Linked DNA regions of Homo sapiens: all the other regions are linked to region 2. The links are contacts of gene promoters, found by promoter capture Hi-C in blood cells and fetal thymus (Javierre and others, 2016). All regions are on one chromosome and are shown on one strand. The core of a region is centred on a gene start or on the middle of the fragment in contact, and the rest is flanking DNA. Distances in the headings are between cores, read along the strand shown. Region 1 holds the start of ATP7B (ATPase copper transporting beta). Region 2 holds the start of SUPT20H (SPT20 homolog, SAGA complex component). Region 3 holds the start of MTMR6 (myotubularin related protein 6).

Region 1 (2,700 bases), core at 136-2,635, about 15 Mb after region 2:
AGCTTGATTTGGAAGGATAATGATTTCTTTCTCTAGGTGGGGACACTGTAGGAAGTTGAAATCTCCTCTGTACAAGCCACCCCTCCCAACATTTCTTCATACTCCTATCAAATGCATAGTCATCATACCCTACAAACCACCTACTAACCAGCCTCTCTCTGTCTGTCCACTAATCCGTTAGTTTTCATTTCTGTATCACCGGAGCCTAGATGAATTCACTACTAAAGGGCACCCAGCAACGTCAGTGAATTAGTTTCAGAAATCTGTGGAAAAGAAACAGCCTACTGTTCTGTCCAGCAATCCAGGCCTAAGTATCTATCCTAAAGAAATAGTGTCAGCATTAAAAATCATGTACAAAGATGTTCACTTGCAAGAGAGAGAGAAAAAAAGTAGCAAACAGAACGTCCACCACTAGGAAACCATGAATAAACTATGATGCGTCCAAACTGTGCAGAGGTTGCACTGAATTAGACAGTTAGTGAAACAATCTCTAAGATATATCGTTAAACTGAAAAAAGAGAATGCACATACAGTGATCTCATTTAGGTAAAACAAAAATTTTAACACCTCATACAAATGAAACCTAAAGATTTCTCTGAATGTGTGCATATTACATATAGATACATGTCTTGTTAACCACTGTATCAACTCAACACTGTGTGCCTGAAACATAGAAAGTTCTCAATAAATATTTGCCGAATGAAGACATATGTACGTGAATAGAAAAAGACTGAAAAATAGATCTGCTTTTTGTGCAAAATATTTCTGTGCTGTTTCCATTTTTAAAAGACTGTCTTAATGTATTACTTGTACAATTAAAATGAATTTAAAACAGTTATAAAAGTTCCAGGACCTCGATATACCATATCTGGTCCAAGCACCAGGCTCTGAGTAACTTCTCCAGGTAACTAACTTCATCGTTTTGAGCCATTAGGGCTCTAGCACAGCAACTCGACGCTCACTTTATCTCTCCAGCATCAGACCCCTTAAAAGCATAAAGATGAATTTTGAGGTGCGGGGTTTTCCATTGCTCCCAAACATCAGTTGACGGCACACTTTTTCTAAAGGGTCCTTTTCTCCCACGCCAAGACATCCCTGGAGCTGGGGTCTGGCTCGGCCTTCCCTGCGCACCCCCTGGGGGCGAGTAAGCGCCGAACGCGGGGAGGAAAATCCTCCTGGTGGGAGTGAGCACGCTGCGCGGACGCGGGGGAACAAAACTCACTTTCCGACTGGCCCCTTCTCTGGCTGTGATCTGTCTCTCCTGCTCAGGCATCGTCCCGCACGGACACCGAATTCTTCTCTGATCTGGCTCAGAGCAAAAGGTCACCTGGTCGGTGGAGGAGAGCGGGGTGTTAAAGTCCCGGGAGAGGAGGCGCAGAGTGTGAGGGCATCGGCGCGGCTCGGCTCTAAAGCAAACAGGGGTCCGGGAACCGCCCCTTCATTTGGGACCGGGGAAGCCGCAGCCCTCTTCACACGGATGATTCAAAGTTGCGCGCCGCCGTCCTCCCGACCTGGGGGCACGGGGATGAGAGCGTGAGGGGAGAGTGGGCCTCGGACCCTCGCCCACTCCCCAGGTGGCTGGGAGTGCCCACCCTGGAACTGCCGGCCCCGCCGGTGCCACAGTGTTCTCTGCCGTGCCAGTGCCACAATGTCCTCTGCCGTGCCGGCGCCGCAGGGCGGAGGCCTGTCCTCCTCCGCGGTCTCGGCCACCTCGCGCTGGTGCGCTCCGACACTGTACTGGGATCTCACGCGTGTGCGGGAGCGGGAGGGCAGGTGAGCTGCGCAGAGCCGGGCCGCAGACTCAGCTCCCAGGGCTCACCCACCGCCTGCGGGGAAGGTGCCCGGCGGCGCCGCGTCGGGTCCGCTCTGCGCTGCCCCCTCCTCGGACTCTGCGCCTGGCTGCCGGACGCCGTGGGTCCCAAAGGAAGCAACCGCGGCAAGAGTGAACTCCGCACCTGGAAAATCGATCCGCTGTGCGCAAAGGCCAGCCAATGGCCTCCAACGGGCGGCGGGCTTTGGGCCGGGAACGGGGGCGCAGGCGCCCAGGCGGGGGCTTCTAGTGGGGGAGGTGGCCGAGGGAGGGAGCGACGGCTGTCAATCACAGGCCACGCCCTCCTCAGCCCAACCCCCCACTGCTGTCCCGCCCACGGGGGCGGGAGCCGTGTGCGCCACGCCGAACACTAGTCTACGCCTCGGCATATTCTATTGGCTGGAAGGCCGTGGGAAGCGGCTACCAGTAACCAATAGTAACGCACAATTGGCCCGTGGGGGCGGGGCGAGCACGGCTTGCTTTCTCAGGAGCCAATAGGGAAAAGGAAAGTGAAGCGTTTCCTGAGTTCGGGGGTCGGCGGAAGATGGCGGCCGGCGAAAGGAGCTGGTGCCTGTGCAAGTTGTTGAGGTGAGCAGCCGGTCGTGTGGGCTCACAGACGTTTTCTCTTCTGTAGGGGTACTTGCCCGTCCAGTGTAGCTAAATTTTGCGGGCAAATGGCCTTCCTTGTCATGAATCTAAGGTAATTTCTCAGGCCAATGAGCAGTCTTTCTTTTTCTTGGGGGTCTTCTATATAGACTGGAATAGACTAGGTCTTAAAGACTCAATTTACCGCGTTTTCTTCTGCTTCACTGTTGGCCGAGGGGTCGAGTTCCCTTCCCTGCTTCAGCTTTTTTTTTCCCTTTCACACTCCAGTTAGTCTGTCATAAATT
Region 2 (2,700 bases), core at 127-2,626:
CACCATACAACTGTAAATGATTTACGATCATTTACAATGAGTAAGATATTACTCCTACCCTTGAAAAGCTCGTAGGAGGTTTAAGTTGAATTTAGGTGAACGTGAAAATTTTCTGACCACTGAATTTGAAGATGAAGATACACTATGTACTTTTCGGACAAAATGTGATGACTTTAAGATTTCTTGTCACTAAATTGGGGATGGGGGCTTACTAACTTTAAATTATTTAAGTACTTCAGACAAAAACTAATAACTTCATATCTCTCACAAAGCAAACATTCTGTCTATACACAGAATTTACTAGAACCTGTGAGGAAACTGTAATCATTATCATTTCCGTTTTACAGAATAAGGCAATCAGAACAACTGACTTTCCTAACATCACAGACCTAGATCAGAATTCAGAACTCTGTGTCCAATCTTAGGTCCCTTCCAATATTACAACCTGCAAACTAATCAAACCGGCATCTGTTTTTACATTTCTTTAAAAAAAGCAAAGCAATTAAAAAAAGGACCCAATTCTGCTCAGAGACGAATATGTATTTCTTAATTTGGATCTAACTTTATAACATGGTGATCAACCCAAGTACACTGTACTCGACTCCGAAAATCCTGCTCGTCACTTTATATTTTGAGTCCTACTAGAGACTTTGATGAATTGCACTCAAGAAGACGCGGCCCCCACTACGCAGTGGCTACGGGAGATGGCTTCCAGGGCAACTGTTCTCCAAGTTCATTTCTGAGCGCCGGGTAACCATGGCCAGTAATTAATCCAATTCTAAGCGTTGCTATCAATTCTACGCGTTGCTATCAATTCTACTGATTTCCCTGATCGACCAGAGTCTTCCCATTGCAGGAGCTTTTGTCACAACTTAGGCTTTACCTGTACAACCGTCATCTCCACAGAGGAGCGACAAGCCTTTATGCAATATGGACACCAAGAAAACCGCCTTCGAAGACACGCAAGGCAAAATTCTTGCCAGTGTCCGGAAATACCCGTCTCTGGAACCCAAAAGTCAAACTAAAATTAAAAGTTCGGCTTAGCAACACCGCGAAAGGCGATGTAGGCGTCCACCTGGAGTTTAGCTGCCTCAACCTCCGCCCCGGCCTGCCGGGTCTCTGGGGACCCCGTCTTCCTCCAGCGGGCTCTGGGATGCGGCCCGCTCACCTCTGACCCTGGCCGGATCTCGCGCGTCTAAGCCACCGCGTTGCCAGTCGCTGGCCACCCACCTACCGCCACCGCCCACCTGTGCGGGTCGCCTCGCCGCTAGGCCCCAAGACGGCGCCGCCTGCTCGGCAGCAAAGCCCACCCGCCCCGTCGGCGGCTCAGTGCTGCACCCCCACCAACAGCCAGTTCCGGCGGCCGCACTTCCGATTGGCAGGCTGGGCCGAGGGGCGGGGAAGGCGGGCGGAAGGGGAGGAGCCGGGAGGGCGGGGCCGCTGCCAGGAGCCTGGAGCGCTGCGTTCCGCGCAGGACGCCGGTGAGGCCCGCAGAGACTTGCGTCCGGGCGGGAGGCGGGGCCCAGGATCTCTGCTCAATCCTGGAGTCCGAGTCCGCAAAGTGGGAGGGAGGGTGTAGATGTGAATTTGGGGAAAAACGACCCTGTTGAATTTCTAGAGTGGAAGAAACATAGAACTAGCTTTTCTCTTTGCTTAGCACATACAAATGGAAAAACAGCGACACCGTTACCTACATTTACTAGTCCAATGCGTACAACCTTCTGTAGTATATCAACTGCCAATGAGTTTATGTTTTTAAAAAAACCACCCCAGAGAAGGGTTCTAAAAATTCAGAAACCGCATTACTAGCACACATTGTAAGGTCTGTTTTGTTTTGTTTGTTCGTTTGTTTTTCAGACAGAGTCTCGCTCTGTCGCCCAGGCTGGAGTGGAGTGGAGAAATCTCAGCTAACTGCAACCTTTGCCTCCTGGGTTCAAGCGATTCTCCCTGCCTCAGTCTCCGGAGTAGCTGGGATTATAGGCGTGCACCACCACACCCGGCTAATTTTTGTATTTTTAGTAGAGACTGTTTCACTATGTTGGGCAGGCTGCTCTTGAACTCCTCATCTCAAGTGATCCACCCGCCTTGGCCTCCCAAAGTGCTGGGATTACAGGCGTGAGCCATCATGCACGGCCTGGGGTGAATCTTTTTAATGAGCATTTATTATTTGCCGTTCACAATGCCAAGGGTCATAATGAATGAAAGTGTCTTGGAATTAGAGTTAGTGGTTGCACACATTATAAGTGTATTAAAGTACACTCCAAAATAAAATCCGAACACATTAAGTGGTTACTCCCATTCCTCCCTCTCTCAGCCCCTGGCAAATGCCAATCAGCTTTCAAACTGTGGTACCTATTACGGATATTTCATATAAATGGAATGTGTGACCTTTTGGTCTGTCTTCGTAGCATAATCTTTTGCAGGTTCACCTTGTACACCTTGTTGCATGTATCGGTACTTCATGTCTCTTTATGGCTACTATTCCACTGTACCTAGATGCCACAGTTTTACCTGTCCATCCACTGATGGACATTTGGGTTGTTTCCACTTTCGGGCTATTGTGAATAGCAATGATATGAACATTTGTATACAAGTATTTGTTCGAGTCCCTGTTTTCAATTCTTTTGGGTATAAACATAGTGGAACTTCTGGGTCTTATAGTAATTCTACGTGAAAATATTTGAGGAACCCATAAACAAA
Region 3 (2,700 bases), core at 168-2,667, about 12 Mb before region 2:
TTGAATTCTCAAGTTATTTTATCTTTCTTCTCTTAAAAAAAAATGTTAAGGGGTTAGTTTTCAGAATCTTCAATTTTACTAGATACGGTATGCACAATGTTAAAGACAAGCTCCAATAAAAATTTATGTATACCTTTAAAAGGTTTGTGAAACATTTAAAAAATTTTTAAAAACACAAATTCTTCTTGGAACAATGAAGATAACGAACATCTGTGGTTCCCTAAATGAGCCGTAATTTTAAGATGGGCAGCAACTAAAGGGCTTCAGCTTTGCCAAAACGTCAAGAGGCTGCCTTGCAGTGGGCTCGCAGTGATTTTAAAATGTTATTCTTCTCGTCTCGATTTATGTTTTTCTCCCTCTCAAAGTTAAACTTAAATGTCGTTGGAAACGTAATTTGGTAACATTCTGATGTCATTTCCTTCCGTTTTTAAATTTGTAACGAAATAAAAATATTTGTTCGTTCTCAAAATGAAGGTCTTCCACACACAAAAATTAAGCATGGAGTGCAATAAGGTCAATCGAATAAAGCTGCATCCGACCTTTTAAAATATGGAATAACATTTTTCCCTTCTCCAGAACTCTTGACTACTGACACAGGACAATGCCTGAAGTATGAAGCACAGACACGGAAACACCGGATGCGAAAGACTGGAGACCGAGACAGCAAAGGGAGGTGGAGCGGAGTGCTGATCTCGGTTCCTCCAAAACTCGTACTGTGAATCTGTGACACGGGACAATGAAATGTGAGCAAGGACAAGCTTACACAGCATCATAATGTTAATTTGAAGACGGTTTTCCGGTTGATGAGGCAACGAAAGGCTGAAAGACTCCAAAGTTAAAGGAGCCCCAATTTTGCCCGAGAAAACGTAGAGCTAGGAGGGCGGTGACCAGTTTTCCCAGACTTATCTCTACGCACTCCAAGATGCTGAAAGTGGGACCCCTGCTCCTGTAGGTACAGGAGGCCTCTGCACCCCGCTTGGCCCAAGCTAACCCTGCCCTCCCAGACCAGGCCTGGCCAGACCCTCCCGCCCCGGGCCGGGTCTCCGCCGGGCCGGCTCCCAGCCCCAGTCAGGCCAGCAGAGCCTTCGTCTCCTCCTGCCTCAGCCGGGTCAGAGCAGGGCCCCTGAAGACTGGCGATCCCGCGCCCGACTACCTTGGTCGTCCGGATATGCTCCATCGCAAGGAGACGTCAGCCGGCAGCCGGTCTCACAGGCGTACCATACGGCTACAGAAACAGGGCGGTGACAGCGACAGAGAGCAAGCGGGAACTCCCTCCACCAGCCAGCGCCGCGGGTCTGTCTGCCGGCCCCGGTGGCGTCAACGGCGCAGGTGCAGCCGGTGAGCGCCGTCTCCTAGAAACACTTCCCCAAACCCCGCGGCCTCCCGGGGGACTCGGGGCAGGCAGACAGAGCGTGTGTGGACCGAGAGCGGCTTGCTGGTTCGTCCCGGACAGCGGCGGATCCCACAGCGCCCCCTGCTGGAGGAGGCCGGTACTGCTCACCACCCCACCCGAGGCGGTCTTTGTCATCCCGCCGAGCGGACGCGCGGGGCGGTCGGGGAGGAAGACTGCGTGAGAATGGATCCCGAGTAAAGGGTTCTTGTGGGGTGAGGGCAAGAGTGGAGGATGTTCTGAAGTCCATCGCCATACCACTGGACAGCACCAAATTTAGTTTGAGCTGCAGTTCTACTCATAAGAATGTATTCTAAGGAAATAATCAGATTTGGAGTTATTATTCTAAGGAAATAACCAAATAAGGAAACCAGCCTTATTTGAAACAATCAACTCTCCAATCCTACGGATTCCTTATGTAAAGTATGATGATTAGCTAGTCCTCAATCTGGTCTGGTGTCAGAGTCCCGCCTCCTACCTCAATTTCATACGATGTTAGCACCAGCATCCATTAAAACTCATCCTGTAGAGGGATATCACATAACGAAAATGTTAATGCTGCATTACTGAGTGAAGAAAAAACTGACTATGGAACAATAAGTTCAATGTAGCCGTGCTCTGTAATTTTTATTTATGTAAACAAAAAGTTTACATTTCTAGGTGAGGGTTACAGGTAATTTTTGTTAGAACACGTCTAATGTGGTACTTCTCAGCCTGGAGTGAGTTTTCTCCCCGGGGGACATTTGGTAACATCTGGAGATATTTTTGGTTGTCTCAAATGGTGGTGGTGGGGGGGTGGCGGCGGGGGGCAACTGGTGGGTGGAGGCCAAGTCACAAGTCGGCTGCTGAACACCCTACTAGGCACCAGACCAACCCCCCAACTACAGGGAATTATCCGGCAGATGACAACAGTGCAGAGGTTGAGAAACCCTGCTCTATGCCAGGCGCGGTGGTTCACGCCTGTAATCCCAGAACTTTGGGAGGCTGAGGCGGGCGGATCACTTGAGGTCAGGAGTTAGAGTCCGAGAAACTCTGCTCTACGTTTTGTAAGTATTCTGTACTAAGCCGGTTAAGGTTTGTAATCTTCATCTTTCATACTGTGATTGGTGTTAGAAAAGCCTAACATCTAAATTTTCTTTTATAATTAAAAATTTTGTTTCACTTATTTGTTTCATTTTGTTCAAGTTGTCTTGGTTTGTTTTGTTTTGAGTGCCTACGATGTTTCAGACAGATTGCCAAAGCAATGGAGATGGTTATTAAACACAACAGCCTTTGCGGTGGAGTTGCTGACTCCTCTAAGCTAAATATGT

The links. Contacts are between HindIII fragments. The CHiCAGO score rates a contact against its expected background, and 5 or more counts as called.
Region 1: a contact is called between the fragment with the promoter of ATP7B here and the fragment with the promoter of SUPT20H in region 2, in 1 of 17 cell types (total CD8 T cells). The highest score is 5.3, in total CD8 T cells.
Region 3: a contact is called between the fragment with the promoter of MTMR6 here and the fragment with the promoter of SUPT20H in region 2, in 1 of 17 cell types (naive CD4 T cells). The highest score is 9.4, in naive CD4 T cells.

Annotation. Positions count from the first base shown.
Region 1 is chr13:52,010,065-52,012,764 of GRCh38, forward strand. ATP7B (ATPase copper transporting beta) reads right to left here and starts at 1,386. Exons shown (of 21, transcript NM_000053.4): 1 at 1,223-1,386. The coding sequence starts at 1,273. ALG11 (ALG11 alpha-1,2-mannosyltransferase) reads left to right here and starts at 2,334. Exons shown (of 4, transcript NM_001004127.3): 1 at 2,334-2,398. The coding sequence starts at 2,355. RefSeq lists silencers at 1,593-1,932, 1,983-2,092, 2,103-2,202 and enhancers at 2,323-2,452, 2,503-2,592. The HindIII fragment of the contact is 3,430 bases long and covers 1-2,700 here.
Region 2 is chr13:37,058,312-37,061,011 of GRCh38, forward strand. It overlaps SUPT20H (SPT20 homolog, SAGA complex component), which reads right to left and starts at 1,377. Exons shown (of 26, transcript NM_001014286.3): 1 at 1,248-1,377. RefSeq lists a silencer at 1,289-1,548. The HindIII fragment of the contact is 8,647 bases long and covers 1-2,700 here.
Region 3 is chr13:25,286,071-25,288,770 of GRCh38, forward strand. It overlaps MTMR6 (myotubularin related protein 6), which reads right to left and starts at 1,418. Exons shown (of 14, transcript NM_004685.5): 1 at 1,154-1,418. The coding sequence starts at 1,177. RefSeq lists enhancers at 798-1,418, 1,122-1,461, 1,562-1,731. The HindIII fragment of the contact is 4,901 bases long and covers 757-2,700 here.